Linked DNA regions of Homo sapiens: regions 2 and 3 are each linked to region 1. The links are contacts of gene promoters, found by promoter capture Hi-C in human tissues and cell types (Jung and others, 2019). All regions are on one chromosome and are shown on one strand. Each heading gives the region's core, a stretch centred on a gene start or on the middle of the fragment in contact. The rest is flanking DNA. Distances are from core to core; before and after follow the strand shown. Region 1 holds the start of DECR2 (2,4-dienoyl-CoA reductase 2). Region 2 holds the start of NPRL3 (NPR3 like, GATOR1 complex subunit). Region 3 overlaps NPRL3 (NPR3 like, GATOR1 complex subunit).

The links. Contacts are between HindIII fragments. The study calls those that stand out against the background at their distance.
Region 2: the fragment with the promoter of NPRL3 here is called in contact with the fragment with the promoter of DECR2 in region 1 in 2 of the 25 tissues and cell types used here (dorsolateral prefrontal cortex and lymphoblastoid cells).
Region 3: a fragment that was not itself captured here is called in contact with the fragment with the promoter of DECR2 in region 1 in 1 of the 25 tissues and cell types used here (dorsolateral prefrontal cortex).

The regions. Positions count from the first base shown.
Region 1 is chr16:400,322-403,378 of GRCh38, reverse strand. DECR2 (2,4-dienoyl-CoA reductase 2) reads right to left here and starts at 1,494. Exons shown (of 9, transcript NM_020664.4): 1 at 1,336-1,494. The coding sequence starts at 1,415. It overlaps NME4 (NME/NM23 nucleoside diphosphate kinase 4), which reads right to left. Exons shown (of 5, transcript NM_005009.3): 5 at 2,625-3,057. The coding sequence ends at 3,037. RefSeq lists enhancers at 1,929-2,514, 2,362-2,671. The HindIII fragment of the contact is 11,138 bases long and covers 1-2,727 here.
Region 2 is chr16:137,305-140,004 of GRCh38, reverse strand. NPRL3 (NPR3 like, GATOR1 complex subunit) reads left to right here and starts at 1,332. Exons shown (of 14, transcript NM_001077350.3): 1 at 1,332-1,363; 2 at 1,671-1,855. The coding sequence starts at 1,738. RefSeq lists an enhancer at 1,403-1,452 and a silencer at 1,673-1,902. The HindIII fragment of the contact is 17,392 bases long and covers 1-2,700 here.
Region 3 is chr16:103,020-105,719 of GRCh38, reverse strand. The region is part of intron 7 of NPRL3 (NPR3 like, GATOR1 complex subunit); the gene reads left to right. Among named protein-coding and RNA genes, the nearest start is that of MPG, 26 kb to the right of the region's middle. The HindIII fragment of the contact is 7,021 bases long and covers 1-2,700 here.

The sequences.
Region 1 (3,057 bases), core at 245-2,744:
AAACTTTTGCTGATCTCCAAGTTGCCTTTCCTATTCTTAATTATTAAAGATTAATTTTGGGCCAGGTGCAGCGTCTCACTCCTGTCATCCCAGCACTTTGGGAGGCCGAGGCAGGTGGATCATCTGAGGTCAGGAGTTCCAGACCAGCCTGACCAACATGGTGACACTCACCTCTACTAGAAATACAATTAGCCCAGCGTGGTATTGTGTGCCTATAGTCCCACTTGGGCGCACTGAGGCTGAAGCAGGAGAATTGGGAGGCTGAGGCAGGAGAATTGCTTCAACCCAGAATGAGACTCCGTTTCGAAAAAAAACTTTTTTTTTTTCCTGCAGAACACTCAGAGAGAATTGTCAATACCTGTCCTTGGAGAACATAATTTAAAACTTGTTTTCTTTTTTTGAGATGGAGTTTCACTCTTGTTGCCCAGTGCAATGGTGCGATCTCGGCTCACTGCAACCTCCACCTCCCGAGTTCAAGTGATTCTCCTGCCTCAGCCTCCCAAGTAGTTGGGATTACAGGTGTGCGCCACCACACCCGGCTAATTTTTTGTATTTTTAGCAGAGACGGGGTTTCACCATGTTGGCCAGGCTGGTCTCGAACTCCTGACCTCTGGTGATCTACCCGCTTCGGCCTCCCAAAGAGCTGGGATTACAGGCGTGAGCCACTGCTCCTGGCAAAAGATCAAAATTTTAATAGAAACTTGAAAATGTTGCCAATTGAAAAAAAGAAAAGGAAAAAAAAAAAAGGATCCGCCCATTAGCCGAGTGAGGGCAGGTGACCGGGGAGGATCGACCTTTGCCCGGGCTGCCTTCTCTTGTGAACACCAAGGCGTTTGCAGGAAAATGAAGAGCTGCTGGGCAAAACCTGGCATTCCTGGGCCTTCTGGGTCTTCCGGAAAAATGATTTCAACCTAAAATTTTCTGTTAAGAAAGAGGCCAGGTTGGGCCGGGCGCGGTGGCTCACGCCTGTAAATCCCAGCACTTTGGGAAGCCGAGGCGGGTGGATCACCTGAGGTCAGGAGTTCGAAAAGAGCCTGACCAACACGGTGACACCCCCTCTCTACTAAAAATAAAAATTAGCCGGGCTGAGGCAGGAGAATCGCTTGAACCCGGGAGGCAGAGTTTGCAGTGAGCGGAGATCGTGCCACTGCACTCCAGCCTGGGCGACACAGCGAGATTCCGTCTCAAAAAAAAAAAAAGAAAGAAAAAAGAAAGAAAGGAGCCAGGCAAGACAGGTTTCCTAACACGCGAGCCCTCGGGGACCACGTGGGGGCGCCGGCGCCCGCGGACCGGACCCCGCACCAAGGCTGCGCTCGCTTCCCAGGCCCCGCTCACCGCAGCAGGTCCGGGCAGAAGAGGTGGCGGTACGCGGGGAGACAGTCGTCCCCCTCCACGTCGGGCGGCGGCTGGGCCATGGCGCTCCCGTCGGGGACTGCGGGGACAACGGGCGGGAGCGGCCTCGGCCTCCAGGACCCGGCGCGCAGCTGCGAACTCGCCTGGAACCGGGAGCCCCGCCCCACTCCCCGGACGCCCCGCCCCTGCCCTGATTGCTTCCCGGAGGCCCCGCCCCTCCCCCGAATTCTCCCCGGAGGCCCCGCCCCCGCCCGCGGCCTGCTGGGACTGGAAGTCGGCGCGCGAGGCGCAGGCGCATTGCGGGGCCGGGGGCGCGGTTCCCGCGGCAGAAGCTCGGCGGTCTGCGGGTCTCCTCCCCGAGTCTTTTTCACAGGTATTCGGCGTCAGCGCCGCGTTCAGAGCCTCCAGGACTTGTGGGATACCCCTGGCTCCTGGGTCCAGGCCAGGCTCGCAGCCTCTGGGCTCCCCGTTCGCCTCCCCGTAAACACCATGGGGAGGGCCGGGGCCCAGGGAAGCGCGGCCAGCCCCGCGCCGCTTCCCAAAATGACCCGTTTTGAGGCCAATAAAGAAGGGTCCGGGGCCGGGCGCGGTGGCTCACGCCTGTAATCCCAACACTTTGGGAGGCCGAGGCGGGCGGATCACGAGGTCAGGAGTTCGAGACCATCCTGGACAACATGGCGAAACCCCCTCTTTACTAAAAATACAAAAATTAGCCGGGCATTGTGGCGGGTGCCTGTAGTTCCATCTACTCGGGAGGCTGAGGCAGGAGAATCGCTTGAACCCGGGAGGCGGAGGTTGCAGTGAGCCGAGATCGCGCCACTGCACTCTATCCTGGGCGACAGAGCGACACTCCGTTTCAAAAACAAAAACAAAAAAAAAAGGGTCCGTTACTTCTGTTCCGCGTGGGGGCCCGGGCGGGGCTATGCCGCGAACCCAGGACGGGGCGCCCCGCCCGCACCACTGTTGGAAGACGGGGGTCCGCGACGGCCACGGGGGAAAAACACGCAGGGCCGCTCCTGAGCTGAACACACCCGCGGGCCAGCGGCTTCAGGGGCGTGACAGAGCCGCCAGCGCTACAGTAATGGCTGCCAGGCCCTTTCTGCGCTGGTTGGCCTCAGCCCGCCGGCCCCTCTCTGCCCCTTCCCCGGGAAGGCAGCTTCTCCTTTGGCGGGATCACAGCACCGGCTCGCGCCTAGCTTGGGTTCTCCGGATTGCAGGCTGGTGGTCTCTGGACCCCTGCCTGGCTCATACATCCAACAACGTTATGGAACTGGGTGTGCAAAACTTCCTCTTTACTGTTCAACTCCTTACAACTTGCATAAAGGCGTCATTTCTACCTCAGAGCTGGGGGAAGTCATAATTAGTGTACCACCCATGTGCTGGGCACAGTGAATTTTAATGCCTCCCCTTTAGAGGAGAGGTTATGATAATGTGAAGACCCCCCCCCACCACAAAGGTTGTCCGGCACTTTGGTGCAAAAAGGATTGGTCCAATCTTGTGCTGGCTTGGGGTACAGAAAGGCACTGAAGTTGGTGGCTCAAACTCCTCTGGGCTGGGGTGGGGCAGAGGTGAACAGGGAAGTAAGTGGTTTGGGACAGGCAGGTTTGGATGTGGGCTTGGGTTCTTGCTGACGGAGGTAGTTGGTCCTGCGTGGGGGATGGGGTGGTAAGGGCAGCTTGAGCCTCAGGCTGGGTGGATGCTGCT
Region 2 (2,700 bases), core at 83-2,582, 260 kb after region 1:
CCCGTTCTGTGGGTGGACTTTTAATTTTCTTGATGGTGTCCTTTAAAGCACCGAAGTTTTTGTTTTGTTTTGAGATGGAGTCTCGCTCTGTCGCCAGGCCAGAGTTCAGTGGCACGATCTCGGCTCACTGCAACCTCCGCCTCCCGGCTTCAAGCGATTCTCCTGCCTCAGCCTCCCGAGTAGCTGGGATTAGAAGCAGGCGCCGCCAAACCCAGCTAATTTTTGTATTTTTAGTAGAGAGACGGGGTTTTACCATGTTGGCCAGGATGGTCTAGATCTCCTGATCTCATGATCTGCCCACCTCGGCCTCCCAAAGTGCTGGGATTTCAGGCGTGAGCCACCGCGCCCGGCCGCAGTAAAGTTTTTAATCTGATGAAGTTTAATTTATTCTTCTGTAGTCGCTCCTGCCTTTAGTGTCACTGCCTCGCCCAAGGTCTCAAAGATCTCCTGTCGGCTTCCAAGTGTTTTTTTTTTTTTTTTTTTTTTTTGAGACGGAGTCTCGCTCTGTCGCCTAGGCTGTAGTGCAGTGGCGCAATCTCGGCTCACCGCAAGCTCCGCCTCCCGGGTTCAAGCGATTTTCCTGTCTCAGCCTCCCGAGTAGCTGGGATTACAGGCGCCCGCCACCACGCCCGGCTAATTTTTTTTTTTTTTTTTGTAGAGACGGGGTTTCACCATGTTGGCCAGGATGGTCTCGAACTCCTGACCTCGTGATTCACCCGCCTCGGCCTCCCAAAGTGCTGGGATTACAGGCGTGAGCCACCGCGCCCGGCCTTTTTTTTTTCTTTTTTCTTTCTTTCTTTCTTTTTTTTTTTTTTGATACGGGGTCTCGTCGCTCTGTCGCCCAGGGTGGAGTGCAATGGCGTGATCTTGGCTCAATGCAACCTCCGCCTCCCGGGTTCAAGCGATTCTCCTCTAGGATTACGGGCGCCTGCCACCACGCCCGGATAATTTCTTCTAATTTTTAGTAGAGATGGGGTTTCACTATGTTAGCTAGGATGGTCTCGATCTCCTGACCTCGTGATCCGCCCGCCTCGGCCTCCCAAAATGCTGGGATTACAGGCGTGAGCCACCGCGCCCCGCCCAAGTGTTATTTGTAAAACGAAGAAACCAACATCGAGAGGGACGCTGACTCGACCCCGCGCCTTTCCCATCCGCACCAGCAAGAGGGGCCCCTGTGCCCCAAACGCGAACCGTACGGCTCCAGACAGCACCGCGGAACTCGGTGGCTTCCAGAAGGCCCCGCGCCTGCGCATTCCGCTGCCTGCGCCTGCGCCTGCGCCTGCGCCGTTCTCCCGGCCGCCGCCTTAGCACCTCCTCCGGACGGTGTCGCCGAAGTCTCGCGAGCCCGGAGCGTGGCACGTGGGTTGGTAACTGTGGCGCTGCTCCGCGTCCACCACCACCCCTGTCCTCCTCAGGCCCCCTCCGCCTCCACCCCTGCCCTCCTCAGGCCCCCTCCGCCTCCACCCCTGCCCTACTCAGGCCCCCTCCGCCTCCACCCCTGCCCTCCTCAGGCCCCCTCCGCCTCCACCCCTGCCCTCCTCAGGCCCCCTCCGCCTCCACCCCTGCCCTCCTCAGGCCCCCTCCGCCTCCACCCCTGCCCTCCTCAGGCCCCCTGCGTCCCCGCCTCGTCCTCCTCAGGCCCCCTCCGCCTCCGGCTCCGTCCTCCTCAGGCCCCCTCCGCCTCCGGCTCCGTCCTCCTCTGGCCCCCTCCGCCCCCGGCCCCGGCCCCACGGCGGGATGCGGGACAACACCAGCCCCATCAGCGTGATTCTGGTGAGCTCGGGGAGCAGGGGCAATAAGCTGCTGTTCAGGTACCCCTTCCAGAGAAGCCAGGAGCACCCGGCGTCCCAGACAAGTAAGTGAGCGCTGGGCGGGGGCCTGGCGCTCGCGGGGGCCGCCTCATTCCGGGGTCGCCTCATTCCAGGGCCGCCTCGCGGAGCTTAGCTTTTGCTGGGCATTCGAGATCTGCTCGTTGTAGAGTATTTGAAAAGTAGAAAAAGGAAAAAAAAAATTAAAATCATGCATTGTTCACCACACCAAAGCAACTACTGCTGACATTTCATCAGTCTCCAGCCTTTAAAAAATAAAGTAAAATAAAATAAAATGAGTTTGGGATGTATTCATCATGAGAAAATACAAAATTACACGAACAAGGCCGGTGGCGGTAATCCCAGCACTTTGGGAGGCCGAGGCGGGTGGATCACCTGAGGTCAGGAGTTCGAGACCAGCCTGGCCAACATGGTTGAAACTCTGTCTCTACTGAAAAAATAAAAATAAAAAAAAACAAATTAGCCGAGCGTGGTGGTGCGTGCCCATAATCCTAGCTACTTGGGAGGCTGAGGCAGGAGAATTGCTTGAACCCGGGAGGCGGAGGTTTCAGTGAACCGAGATCGCGCCACTGGATTCCAGCCTGGGCAACAGAGCAAGACTCCGTCTCAAAAAAAAAAAAAAAAGTTACGTGAACATCTGAAGTTGTCTTTGCCACCCCCAGTTCTAGCAAGCACAGGGATCACCCCTGGCCGTGTTGGGAGTTGTCTGCCCTGTGCATAGATGCAGATCTATCCACAGGAAAAGGGAACGTCGCGTGAGGTTTTTCATCGCACGAATTGTTCTGTGGCGCCCTTTTCCCATAGTCGGCCTTGGAGCTCCGTCTGCCTTTGCAAGCAGGGATCAACCTCACCCTTGGCTGCAGGCTGCTGC
Region 3 (2,700 bases), core at 84-2,583, 300 kb after region 1:
CGACGGAATGTGTGGGTGGGAATAACAGCAGTGTAGATTCCATGGAGTGTGAAGAAGTGATTTGCTGAATGGTTCTCCGAGTTAACAGGACCTGTGGTGGGGAGTGATGTCCAGGGTCTGGCTGGGTAGGTGGTACTTGGTGCGGAGCCTTGCACTGCAAACTGTCGAGAGCAGGGTTGGTCCCATGGACCCTCTGTGAATATCCTGAGTTGTAGTACCCATTTCCATAAAAATGCACCTATATATAAACTTTCGTTTGAAATTTCAAGGTAGGCTGTTTGGAACCCACATAGATCTTTTGGGTTATGCAGCATCCCACTACTTATGGTAGGAAGCCAGGCCCATCCGTGGGACCAGAGGATGCAGAGGTTTGCAGGATAGCTTCACAGGTCCTGTCTAGTTCTAAGGTTAGGAATGGATGCTTTCTCAGATGCTAAAAGCTGAGGGGACTAGACTAAGCTTGTGCACATTTCTGTCTTGGAGATGAACGGCGAGAGTGTGTTTGAAGCCAGCCATTCCCTTTTGCATAGTCATTGTCAGGATGCAGGGCTTTGGCTGGGGCACCTATCTCCTGTCACAGACTGGGCTGGGCCCTCTTGGCTGGCCCAGAGCTGTGTGAGGGGCTGGATAAGTCTTGAGGAGGACAGTGTTTTCCTCCAGAGTGTTTTCAGACCAAACCATTAAACACCTTGCAAATAGAAGTGCAAGCTCGGCAGGAAACCTTTCAGGGCCCAAACCCTGCTTGTGCTAAGGGCTCTTGTCTTAAAGCTGCAGACTTAAAAACAGTGACAAACCTTTCTCTTTCCCCTTGTTAACAGACCTCAGTGCAGCTCCTGGCTTACCCTCTTACTGTGGGGGATTTACAGGCTGGAGGTTGGGCCGGCACCTTTCCAGAGCAGTCATCCCTCTGACATGTTCAGGGAATTTGCCCAGGTCTGCCATGGCCTTTGGGGCACTCCTGGTGGCAGCACTTGTCACCGCTCTAGGGAGCTGGGTTAGTTCATAAAGAAGCACCAGCCTCAGTGCAGAGTGCTCTGAGGGAGAAAGCAGCAGGTGGGTGAGCTGATGCTTGGGAAAATGGAGTAAAGTCCACGTGGAAGTTAGAGGAACCAACATGGCGTGTCTCTGCCAGAGGAGAGGGCCCCATGCCAGTGTACAAACCAGACCACATGACTGCGGCTCCAAGGACAGCTGACACGGTGAGGGCAGCAGAGATGACCAAGCTGGGAAGTCACTAGAAGAACCTTCATGTGACCCTCCTGCCCTCATTTCTCCATACCCATAGCTGGAACTTGTTCCTGGCTTTCCATGAGGTGTGTTCCAAGCCCCTGTTCCTTTCCCTATAACTCTCTCCAGTTTCTAATGCTCCATACAATTTGATTACAATTAGGTGTCTTTTTTTTTAAACGTTAATTTCAATTTTTTTTGAGACAGGGTCTTGCTCTGTCACCCAGGCTGGAGTGCAATGGCGCGATCTCGGCTCACTGCAACCTCCGCCTCCTGGGTTCAAGTGATTCTCCTGCCTCAGCCTACCAAGTAGCTGGGATTACAGGCACCTGCCACCACACCTGGCTAATTTTTTTTTTTTTTTTTGAGATGGAGTTTCACTTTTGTTGCCCAGGCTGGAGTGCAATGGCACGATCTCAGCTCAGTGCAACCTCCGCCTCCGCCTCTACCTCCCAGGTTCAAGTGATTTTCCTGCCTCAGCCTTCCAAGTAGCTGGGATTACAGGCATGCACCACCACGCCCAGCTAATTTTGTACTTTTAATAGAGACGGGGTTTCTCCCTGTTGGTCAGTCTGGTCTCAAACTTCTGACCTCAGGTGATCTGCCCATCTCAGCCTCCCAAAGTGCTGGGATTACAGGTGTGAGCCACGGCACCCGGCCTAATATTTGTATTTTTAGTAGAGACAGGGTTTCACCATGTTGGCCAGGCTGGTCTCGAACTCCTGACCTCAAGTGATCGGCCTGCCTCGGCCTCCCAGGTTTTGGGATTACAGGCGTGAGCCGCCACGCCCGGCCAATTATGTGTCTGTCTAGATGCCGCTGAGTGAAGCCCCCAGCGTGCAGAGCAGCCAAGTTATTTTCTTCCCTGCTGCACTCCAAGTACCTAAACTGGTGCTGGGAGCCACAGCACATGTCATAAGGCCTCACTGTGCTCCTAGATGGAGCAAAGACAGCTACATTTGAAACAATAGGAGCCTCCGTATTCTGATTCTGTGGTGTCCCAACAGCCACTTTGAGCTGCATCCTAAATAGGACAGAAACAGAAAGGCCTTGGGTGGGTGCGGTGGCTCACGCCTGTAATCCTAGCACTTTGAAAAGCCAAGGTGGGAGGATCGCTTGAGCCCAGGAGTTTGAGACCAGCCTAGGCAACATAGACCCTGTCTCTACAAAAAAAAAAAAAAAAAAAAAAAAAAAAATCACCCCAGGCGTGATGTTGCACGTCTGTAGTCCCAGTTACTTGGGAGGTTGTCTTGAGCCTGGGAGATCAAGGCTGCAGTGAGCGGAGATGGCGCCACTGCACTCCAGCCTGAGCAACAGTGAGACCTTGTCTCAGAAAAAAGAAAAAAAAAATAGACCTTTTATTTCCAGTGGCCCTCCTTTCTGACCCAGATGGTGACAGCACAGTGCATGGGGCCACCTCTCGCTTGCCCTTTCTTCCCTGTCGCATACGGATGCCAAGATCCTAACTATTGC